3 separate regions of the Homo sapiens genome follow, and regions 1 and 3 are each linked to region 2. The links are contacts of gene promoters, found by promoter capture Hi-C in human tissues and cell types (Jung and others, 2019). All regions are on one chromosome and are shown on one strand. Each heading gives the region's core, a stretch centred on a gene start or on the middle of the fragment in contact. The rest is flanking DNA. Distances are from core to core; before and after follow the strand shown.

Region 1 (3,558 bases), core at 584-3,083, 2.0 Mb after region 2:
CCACCCCATGAGGGTAGAGTTTATGTTATTCACACTTGTGTCTCCAGACCCAGACAAAATCTACTGAAAAGTAGGATCTCACTAAATTGTGTGATAGGTGAATTAATGAATGCTTATGTGAATGATGAAATGTTTACGCACAGCCCCCAAAGGTCAGCCTCAAAGGATGATATGGGTATCCTGCAGAGTGGCTCCTGAGGGCTCCAGGTACCAAAGCATGACTCTAAGGGCTCATCACACATTCTGGAAACTGTCAGCTTAGCAAGGCTGGCTAAGCAGAGTGACAGACAATCCCAGCTGGACCTTCCCTTCAAGTATTATGCAAGACAGGTTCATCCCCAGGGACAGGGGGTGATGTCTGGACTGGGTCAGGGAAGAGCCCCAGTCTCGACAAGGAGCGAAGCAAGGGCATAGAAGGTAGCAGCGCCTGGCATCTAGCACCCAGGTGGGGCCTGGGACAGGACTTCCAGCAGGAAGAAGGTAGGACACGCTGTCAGAACTAAGATCTAATATTCATTAACTCCTTATCACCCAAAATTGTATTCCCACCTCCAAAATGTTATTTTTAACTTTTGCTAAAAATAAACAAATATACAGATAAATAAATAAAAATAAACATTCAATTTGTTTTATGGCAGATATGCTAAGGAATGATGTGATAATAACAAAATATTGGAGACAACTTAAATATTCAAATACAGTGGTTGTTTTTTTAAAAATATGGGAAGCCATGCACTAATACTATACAACTATGTTAAATTATTTGTAAATATTCTTTTAACATGTGATTAAGTGAAAAAATAAGGTAATAAATACTAGTATTGTATTTTTTATAAAAAGAAAATTTTATTTATCTACAAAGAAAAGGGTTTGGAAAGTCACAAACCAAGATATTACCAATTTTTTTGTTAGGTAATTAGATTATACATTTTTCCTTTTTTTGCTTATTAAGAAATTTAAATTTTTCTTTAATGCAAAAAATATGTAAAAGAATTAACAGGCAGTAAATTTGTCCTTGATGCACTGCATTACAGAAAGAACTCTGAGTGGAATAAATATCACCTGTCTTTTGGACGTCCTAGGAGTTGAGTTGACACTGTGGTGGTTGCTTGTGTTAGGTGGAGTGAGCAATATCACAGAAACCTCCCACGTGGAGATTTCTATTGTATTTGAAAAGCTTAGAACACTGTTATGTGATGTATAAACTGTGGGTCAGAACAGTGATACAAAAATAATAAGAGTACTTTTGCTTCAAGAAATCCAACTTAATTTAAAGTGACTGGATTCCGATTTATAAGCCTGAGGTACATTAGAGTTTGAAAGTTTTTTGTTTCCTTTCAAATGTACATTAATATTTGGCTCAATGCTCATAGGGAAGCAATTCAGCACCAAAGGTGCAATTATTCTTCCAGAATGCTAAAATCAATTTAGCTGTTTGGCTTATAATAAATGCTGAGTTATATTCTCAGATGCCAAAATTCCTCCAATTATAGGTGTACATTACTGGGACTTCTGAAAAAAGAAATATGTAAGACCTCCCTTTTTAATTCGTGGAATTCAAGCCCTAAAGAAAAAGAACAAAATCCTCTTAAAAATAAGAAATTTCTACCCTCACCTATACATTTGTAAAACCAATTTGATCGCTGCTTGTATTTTTAGAGAGGATTTTGTTATTTTTCTCTAAGAGTATCCTTTTTTTCTCTGTTAAGTATTTTTAGACTCTGCTGAAAAGCAACTTTATATCTTCCATGTGACTTACTAGAAAGGTTCTCAAATCATAGCCTATAAATCATTAATGTCCCCTGATTTTCTATAACTATTTTCCAATTGAACTGAAAAAAATGACCAAAATAATCACATAAAGAAGTATTTTTTGTGTGTGAGATAAATCTGTTGTTCATTTTACACACACACACACAAACATTTTTAAAATGTAAAAACAGTATATGTAATCTCAAAGTTAGATATGAAAGGCATCAAAGTATGGTTGAAAGAATACAGACATTGAAATCATAGAAGATTGACTTTCTGTCATAGTTTGGACAATTACTGTATAAATGTAGGGCTAAATTACTTCATTTCTCTGTACCTCAGTTTCTCCTGTTTACTCCTATCTAGAGGCTTATAGTTAGGGGAAAAAAATCAGGTAAAGGTACAGTCATAATCACTAATGAATACTAAATATTTAATAAATGCTACTGGGGGCTTGTCTGTTCATTGTTTATTTGGGGTTTTTTTTGTTGTTTTTTGTTTTGTTTTGTTTTGTTTTGTTTGAGACAGCATCTCGCTCTATCACCCAGGCTAGAGTGCAATGGCACGATCTCGGCTCACTACAACCTCTGCCTCCCAGGTTCAAGTGATTCTCCTGCCTCAGCCTCCTGAGTAGCTGGGATTACAGGCACATGTCACCACACCTGGGTAATTTTTGTATTTTTGGTAGAGACGGGGTTTCATCACGTTGGCCAGGCCGGTCTCGAACTCCTGACCTTGAGATCCACCCACCTTGGCCTCCCAAAGTGCTGGGATTACTTCTTTATTGTTTATCTCTCTTGCTTTACTGTAAATTTCCTGAGGGCAGGACCGATGTCCTCTTTGAACCCCAACATTTTGACATAATTTCTAACTCCCAGTAGTTACTCGATAAACATTTGTTGAATGAATTGGTGAAGCATGTAGTATCCAGCAAAGATTGAGGGCTCCTAATCAGGATTATTTGTGACATTATTGTAATTGAATATGCTAAATCTTCCCATCCTGCCAGAGTTCCAAACCCTTTTAAAATTTATAATTAGGATATCACAAATATCTCTTCTCTAAATCTTTCATATTCGCTTCTCTAAAAGCTAGAGTGCAATTCTGTGTGCAGTGCTCTCCCTATGTTGGTTGCTACTTAATCTCCTAGGTTTTTCATGTTGTCCTTAACATTACACAGTTCTTCCTTATTGAGGCAGTTTAATTTCAATTTGCAGTTCCCCTCACTGCCTCCCCAACTTTTGAAAGACCACATTGTTGGTTTTAAAAGAAAGGTCACATTATTTTCTGGAAGTCAAGAATTTATCAGATTCTGCCATTTTATCAGAACAAAAGTTCTGTCATCTATCAAATGGATGAGTCTCCCAATGGTGGTCCAACCACCATGCCAGTGTTGCCATCTGTGTAAGGAAAGACTTTGGCTGACTCACCCCTATGAAATAACTTCTCTACTGTCTTGTTTATCGTCCCTCAGGCACTTTGCATTCTACTTTTCCCTTTAGGTTTGTGGGCATCCATTCACTGTGTGCCTCTTCTTATGCTTTGCTATTCTTACTCCTTTAGTGCCTTCGTTCTTTTTGAATCAGGTGAATTGTCTCATAGGGACAGTACATGTTATGCTTTGATTACAAACAACCCTGCAATCTAAGTGGTTTATAATATATGTTTTTCTCTTTCTCATGCTACATATCCATCATGGCTTGGGTACTCCTGTGTTCCTCTTGGTCTTAGTCCAGGACCAGACAAACAGAACAGCCACTATCTGGAGCATTCCCAGACACCAGACATGGTGGCAGAGAGAAAGAG
Region 2 (3,285 bases), core at 474-2,973:
GCTCTAACATGACAGTGGTTTAACAATATTACCTCCAAATGAAGGTAACTAAAGAGGAGACACACAAAACTGTGAACCAGGAAGGATTCGAAAGACACAGAGGGAAGGAAAACATGTATCAAAGACCTAGGGGAAGCAGTGGCCAAAGAATCAAGCAGTAAAAAAGCCTTCTTAATTCTCAATGTGACTAAGGAAACCAGACCTGTAAGGTAAGAAAGCAGGAAAGTGTAACAGCAGAAAAAGGACATTTAAAAAAAAATTTAGCATCTGGGCATAGAAAACACACGAGAAATTCGGGCAGCCACTCTTTTTTGACCTTTAACGTGTACCTGAACTGGTGGGTGCAGGAACTGGCGGGTGCCCATAATGGGGCACAACCCTGGCTGATGTCTGCACCAGTGATCTAGAGTTCTACCCATAAACTGTGAGGTTTCCAAATAGTTTGGGTGGTAACCATAAAAGCAAACACTTGTCTTTGCCAAGGTACTATTCTAAGCATTATACATCTCTTACTCATTTAATCCTTGCAACAATCTTGTGAGGTAAATCCAATTATTAGCTCCATTTTACAGATGGGGAAACTGAGAAGCAGCACAGGTTAAGTAACTTCCTCGAAGTCACAGAGCTAGTAACAGTGGAGCTGGTGTCCTAAGCTAGGCAGTCTGGCTGAGGAGTCCTCGCTTTCACCACTGTACTCATAACCAGCTCTTTTTCTGTCTGGATGCTTAGATCTTGGACTAAAAAAATCTGGTAACTTTTCAAAATTAGTTTCCTTGGGAATTGGGAAACCAAAGGAATAGTGGAGGGAGGGCAATTAATTTGAGTGTACAGGTCTGGAAGCATGCATACTCCATGTCCCCCTCCCTCAGGGCACAGTGAGGACCCAAACTTCGCAGACTGTTGGTAGGACTGGAATGTATTCAAAGTGCACGGAGCACGTAGTCGATGCGCAATAAATATGTATTTTCTTCTCTTGATAGAAGGTAAAACTAGGGCTAAGATCTTAATGACTTTTCAACTAGTGTTCCTTTCAATACACTACACTATATACTACGCATCTCTCCCAGATTGCAGTTTAAACACTGATGGGTGGTTGATCGTGCAAACAGAAAAATGCAGCCAAAAAAAATGCAAGTACCAAATCAAGTGGCTGTGTCCACAATCAGCTGGTGTCCAGAAAGACATGCAGAGAAAGTTCCACGACGTGAGATCTTCAAGGACAGCCCTAGTCCCCCTGACCCCGCCCCTCCTCGGCCCTAGAAATCACCGATTCCCCAGCCCGGTCTTGCGCAGTTTGCCCCTCCTTCGTTCTTCCCTATCCCTCTCAACATTAGCTAATGGCTGAGGTAAATGTGCCGGTCCCCACGGCACCGGCGCGGAGCGGAGGCTGCACACTTCCGCCCCTTCTCGCCGCTGGAGGCCGCGCTCTGCGGCAAGACTCGGCCGCCGCAGGCCCCGGGCAGCGTCCGCCGTTGCCCAAACCTGGAGGAAACTCAAGCCCCAGCCGCCATGGAGGTTGCGCGCAGTGCGCCCCGGAGCCCGCGCCACTCACCGGGGCGCTCTCGGGCAGGTTGTAGCGACACAGAGTGTGGTCCAGGTCGAATCCGACCACGTCGCAGGCGGCCAGGGAGAAGTGCTGAGCCATGGCTGCGCGGGGAGCACCAGGGAGCGCCTCGGCCGCGAAGGGTGCAAGGAGCTGGCTGGCGGGACGCTGCGGGACAGGACCGGGCCGGACGCGGCGGGGCGGGGCTGCGGCTGCCAGGGCACACGGCGCGGCAGCCTCTCCCGCCTCCCGCGCCCTCGAGCACCGCCCCTCGATACGCTTAGCCCCCGCCCCTCGCGCGGCGGGCGTCCTGCGCCGCCCGGAGTCAGGTAGTCAGCTCGCGTCCTCCTGGTACCCCAATGCCGGCGACTCCTGATCTGTTCCGCAAGCCTAGGAGCCCAGAAGGCAGTAGGGGTCCAGGAGCGGTGCCGCTGCTGCACAGCTGAGACCTGTAGGCACGTAGCCTTTCCCGAGGGCTACCACAAAATTAACCGGGACACTCCATCGCCTCAGGGCGCCTCGGAAACCAGGAGATCATGAGGTTAGACCTGACCTTTTACCCCTGTGTGAGGAATAGTAAGATCATAGAAAAAATTCATCCGCTAATATCCCTCTGACCCAGTTAGCCTACAATTTGGAAGGTCTTTTCACCCACGTGATCTTTGATAGTGGTTTAAACCAAAAACTTTATATTCCTTGGTTTCCTAAGTGGTTAAGTGGAAGACAGACCTTTCACTATTTCATACCCTGGAGTGCGTTAGAAAATAAATGTATCAGACATCGTGAAGAACCATTTTGCAAGATGATACTTGTTATGGAAACCAATATTGGTTATTACTTGATAATCCTATTTTGTTATTGTAATGAATTTTTTATGAAAGGGCATCAGAAACTTCATAGAAATATATAGAGCATACTACAAAAAACTTTTGCAAACCGGGTTTAAGGTTTATAGAGCACAAAATGTTTTGAGTGACATTTGCTTAATTCTCTCAAGAACTGTATAACTACTACCATTTTAGATGCAGAGAAAGTTAATCCATTACATACAATGTATGCCTTAGGGCATTTAATTCTCTTCCTGATTTCCGGATGTGAAGGACTAGCACTTTGAGATCTTTATTACATAGTACCTCATTTTAAAAAGAAAATACAAATCTATTATGTTTACACTGCTTCAGTTCTCAATTTAAAGGAACAATGTGTCTAATGGGACAAATCAATAGTCGTGACATAATGAAAATATAATTGATTGAGAACTGCATTTAACCCTTTCAAATACTAATCCTTCTGAGGCTAATAGACCAATCAGAGGATTAATTTAGTGCAATAGATAGTACAATTGAGTAGGAGGACACTTATACCTAGTAGACCCATTTGAATAAAATTGATAACTTGTTCCATTATAACACTTAAAAGCCCCAAACAAATCTCTCTGGAATAGGAAAAGTAAAGAATCTTCAAGAAGATTAAGCTGTTCACTGATGAGTCCAACAATCATGTTTTCAATGTCTGTGAACCAAAAGAGAAAAGGCTGGATTGTTGGAGAGGCTGGAAAAAGCTTGTTGGCCCTGGAGCATTGACCTTGGCATTCTCCTCTGCACCTTGCAATAGAATGCTACCAAAGTCAAACTTCCAGGTGCATGCCACATTGAAGGGCACATGTTTCCTTGGGGAATATCTTGTTTCATGTGGGAGTAGGTGCTTTAGGTACTTTAGGGACTTCCCTTAGTAATACAAAT
Region 3 (3,402 bases), core at 29-2,528, 1.4 Mb after region 2:
AAGAAGAACAAATGAAAAAGCCCTGAGGTATGACAGAATTTGTTTTTTGTTGTTGTTGTTTGTTTGTTTGTTTTTTAGCTATATAAAGTAGGCAAGAGAACTATTTGGCTGATGGATTCTAAAAAAGAAAGATGGGCAGTGGGCCTAGGATCTGAAACAAGTTGGAAAAGGTGATCAGGCCTCAGCTCATGCAAGGCCTTGCAGATTATTGAGGGGAGTTGCTTTTAACTGTATGTCTAATAGAAGTCTCCAAAAAGTTTGAAGGTGGGAATAGGTGAGGAGGAATGCTGGCACCATTTGATTACCCTTTACTCTTGCAGTCATATGAAGAACAGACTGCACAGGAACAAGAATGGAAACAGGGGAATTCATTAGTGGGATGATCATTCCTCTTAGGCCCTTTGGGTCTTTTCTAATACTCCTTTTAAGTATAAATATCTTTTTAATCCATTTCAAAGAAAATGCTCTCTTTAGGTTAGGAAGTTGTCTACGGTCAACCTACCCATTAAGGAACTTTAGCAGAAGTACAGTAGATAGATAGTGATGGTTTGAGTTGGTTGTTGGTGGTAGAGAGAGTAAGGAATGATTACATTCAAAACGTATCTTGAAAGTTGCACTGAAGGATATATTGACGGATTGCATATACAAGGTAGAGGAAAGGCACAAATTGAGGATGACTTTTAGATTGTTGTCCTGAATTGATGGTGGTACCATTTACTAAGAACATCTAAAAAAAGAGAGAGAAAAGAAAGAGAGAAAGAAAGAAAAAAAATAGAGAAAGAGAGAGAGAGAGAAAGAGACAGAGAGAGAGAAAGAAAGAGAAGGAGATTTGGGTAGAAAAACAGAAGCCTAGCCAATTGACTTAGAAGTCAGAACAAAAGAGATATAAGAAAAATCAAAAGATAAAATTGCCCAAAATAGATATTCACCTCTTTTCTTCATCATTTGTTAGAAGAAGGACCCTTCTAACTTAACCTGAACAATTATTTCACTTGTTATCTGGGTCTTCTTTCTTTTCTTTTTCATTTGCTCACACTCTTAATTATCCCTGTTTCTATTTTATCTTCACCATCTTCTTACTTAATCTCTCTGAAAGTCAATAGATGTAAACAACTATTAACCATTAACAAAAATAGAAAACAGACCAAACAAGCGAACCCTTAACCCTCCAGGGACCCTACATTCTTTCTCACTACCATAATTCCCTGGAACTTTAGAGCCATGTTTCTGAAAAGGGTAGTCTATATTCAAGGTTACCATCTCCTCACCTCCCATTGCCACAAAATCACTGGCACTACGATTTTTACCCTCATCATTTTGATTAAAATCTCTCCCACAATTGCTTTCCTGTGCCAAACTGGTGGATATTTACCATTTTCATTCACTTGATTTTATTACTTTTATACCCTGTGCCTTTTAAAACCTGTCCTCATCATTTGTTTCTTCCTACTGTTATTCCTCCTACCTTTCTTTTGACTTCTATTTTCTCATCTCTTACACTTTTTCTATCCCTTATATAAGTTAATATTCCTCAAAAATCTATTATCAGCATAATGTTCTTCTCATTATAAAAAGTCTTCCCCCTGGGTCTTATACTTACCTCAAAGGAGTGACAACTATGTTCCCTCTCTTATGGTGATGTTTACATGGATGTATACACCAAACTAAAGCTTATCAAATTATAACTTTAAATATGAGAAATTTATTAGAAATAAGCTCTTTTAAAAAATACACTCCTTAATTTGAATGAATCTTACCAGAAAATCTATAAAAAGAGAAAACTTGGCTGGGCGCGGTGGCTCATGTCTGTAATCCCAGCACTTTGGGAGGCCGAGGCAGGCGGATCACCTAAGGTCGGGAGTTCGAGACCAGTCCAACCAACATGGAGAAACACCATCTCTACTAAAAATACAAAATTAGCCAGGTATGGTGGCACATGCTTCTAATCCCAGCTACTCGGGAGGCTGAGGCAGGAGAATCACTTGAACCCAGGAGGCAAAGATTGCGGTGAGCCGAGATCGTGCTATTGCACTCCAGCCTGGGCAACAAGAACCAAACTCCCTCTCAAAAAAAAAAAAAAAAAAGAAAGAAAACTTGTTCCCATGACACTCTAGTTATGGTGGACTCTTGCTACTTTCTTTTCTCCTGTGAGACACACTAACCATGATGAGTTAAATCATCTATCACCAGGTATTTATTGCCCAGATGTGCACAATTTGTTCCTAGAGACAAAATTCAATAAAAGTAACTTCAATAACTTTTCAGGTATGAATCTAGTTATGACTTTTCAGATATAAGCCTGGTATGAATCTGCTTTAGTGTTTTTCGTTTGTTTATATCTGGTGAATGCATCAGGCATAGGCTTCACGTTTTGTCTGATCACTTTTTCCCAGCTTATGTGAGAAGAACAAAGACGGAATTAGCTCTGTGTCTATTTTCTTTCTGGCATTCCAAAGTTACCACAACTTATTTCAGAGTGCTGTAGTATGCTAGGGAGTGCCTTCATTAAGTAGTGACATCATTCCTACAGCAGCAATTTCCTGTCTTTGGAGAACGTCTAAGGTCTCCCACAAGAAGGACCCAGTTTCTCCCTCTTAGGATGGATTTCTAAAACTCCAAATCTCTAAAGTTCATCATTACTGCAGTAGGGAGTCCAGAGATAGCCCCAGACATTAGCTTTGCCTAACATTTTGGAATAAAACAGCCTGTTTGCTGCCCCTAGAGGTTCTGCTCCTCCTGTTAAATAGTGTATTTGTATTCTGAGAGTACAACCTATGGGACAGAGCAAATGCATCTTTTTTGCTTTACTCTGATCTAAAATAAAACTTGGAATACAGACTCCTACAGTAGCCATTCTGAAATACTTTGCAACATCCAGCATAGCACTAGTCAGGGCTAAAGGAAAGGAGATGGTATTAATTTACAGTTAGAAGGGTAGTCTACACATGCTCTTGATTATATTCTTGGATGATCCGCCTCAACAGGAAAAAACTTACATTTAGAAAGTGAGCATGGAACTTAGCTGTCAGATAGGTTCCTAATCAAAAGTGTCCTAGGGAATCTTGCCTTGAACAGTGTATAACACCACTCCTACGCTTTCCAAATGGGATTCAGTAACATTATGAAAATTTTGGTCAGTACTGGAGTATTGATTAGTCATTAATTGAAGATCACTGTCAGGCTTTTCCTAACTCTCATCTAATGCTTAGATTTACTTTTCGATGTGCATATTGATAAATATTCACTTTATATTAGCTCCTACCATTTTGCCTAACCCAGTCCTGGTCCACCTTGTCCAGGATAATGTTAAACTCACAATCTCTAACAGTGGTCTTCAAACTTCTTTGAGAAGTACCCGTATCAGCAATTATTAATTAATTAATTTTAAAAAAAGAAAATATA

The links. The method cuts DNA at HindIII sites, captures the fragments that hold promoters and counts their contacts. A contact is called where the count stands out against the background at its distance.
Region 1: a contact is called between a fragment that was not itself captured here and the fragment with the promoter of NT5DC1 in region 2, in 1 of the 25 tissues and cell types used here (dorsolateral prefrontal cortex).
Region 3: a fragment that was not itself captured here is called in contact with the fragment with the promoter of NT5DC1 in region 2 in 1 of the 25 tissues and cell types used here (dorsolateral prefrontal cortex).

Annotation. Positions count from the first base shown.
Region 1 is chr6:114,118,860-114,122,417 of GRCh38, reverse strand. All of the region lies in intron 3 of HS3ST5 (heparan sulfate-glucosamine 3-sulfotransferase 5), which reads left to right. All of the region lies in intron 6 of HDAC2-AS2 (HDAC2 and HS3ST5 antisense RNA 2), which reads right to left. Among named protein-coding and RNA genes, the nearest start is that of HDAC2, 150 kb to the right of the region's middle. The HindIII fragment of the contact is 4,983 bases long and covers 1-3,558 here.
Region 2 is chr6:116,099,291-116,102,575 of GRCh38, reverse strand. NT5DC1 (5'-nucleotidase domain containing 1) reads right to left here and starts at 1,723. Exons shown (of 12, transcript NM_152729.3): 1 at 1,553-1,723. The coding sequence starts at 1,645. It also overlaps a transcript of FRK not described here. RefSeq lists enhancers at 1,020-1,540, 1,541-2,063 and a silencer at 1,648-1,907. The HindIII fragment of the contact is 5,791 bases long and covers 1-3,285 here.
Region 3 is chr6:114,734,638-114,738,039 of GRCh38, reverse strand. No RefSeq gene overlaps it. Among named protein-coding and RNA genes, the nearest start is that of LNCPOIR, 190 kb to the right of the region's middle. The HindIII fragment of the contact is 3,469 bases long and covers 1-3,012 here.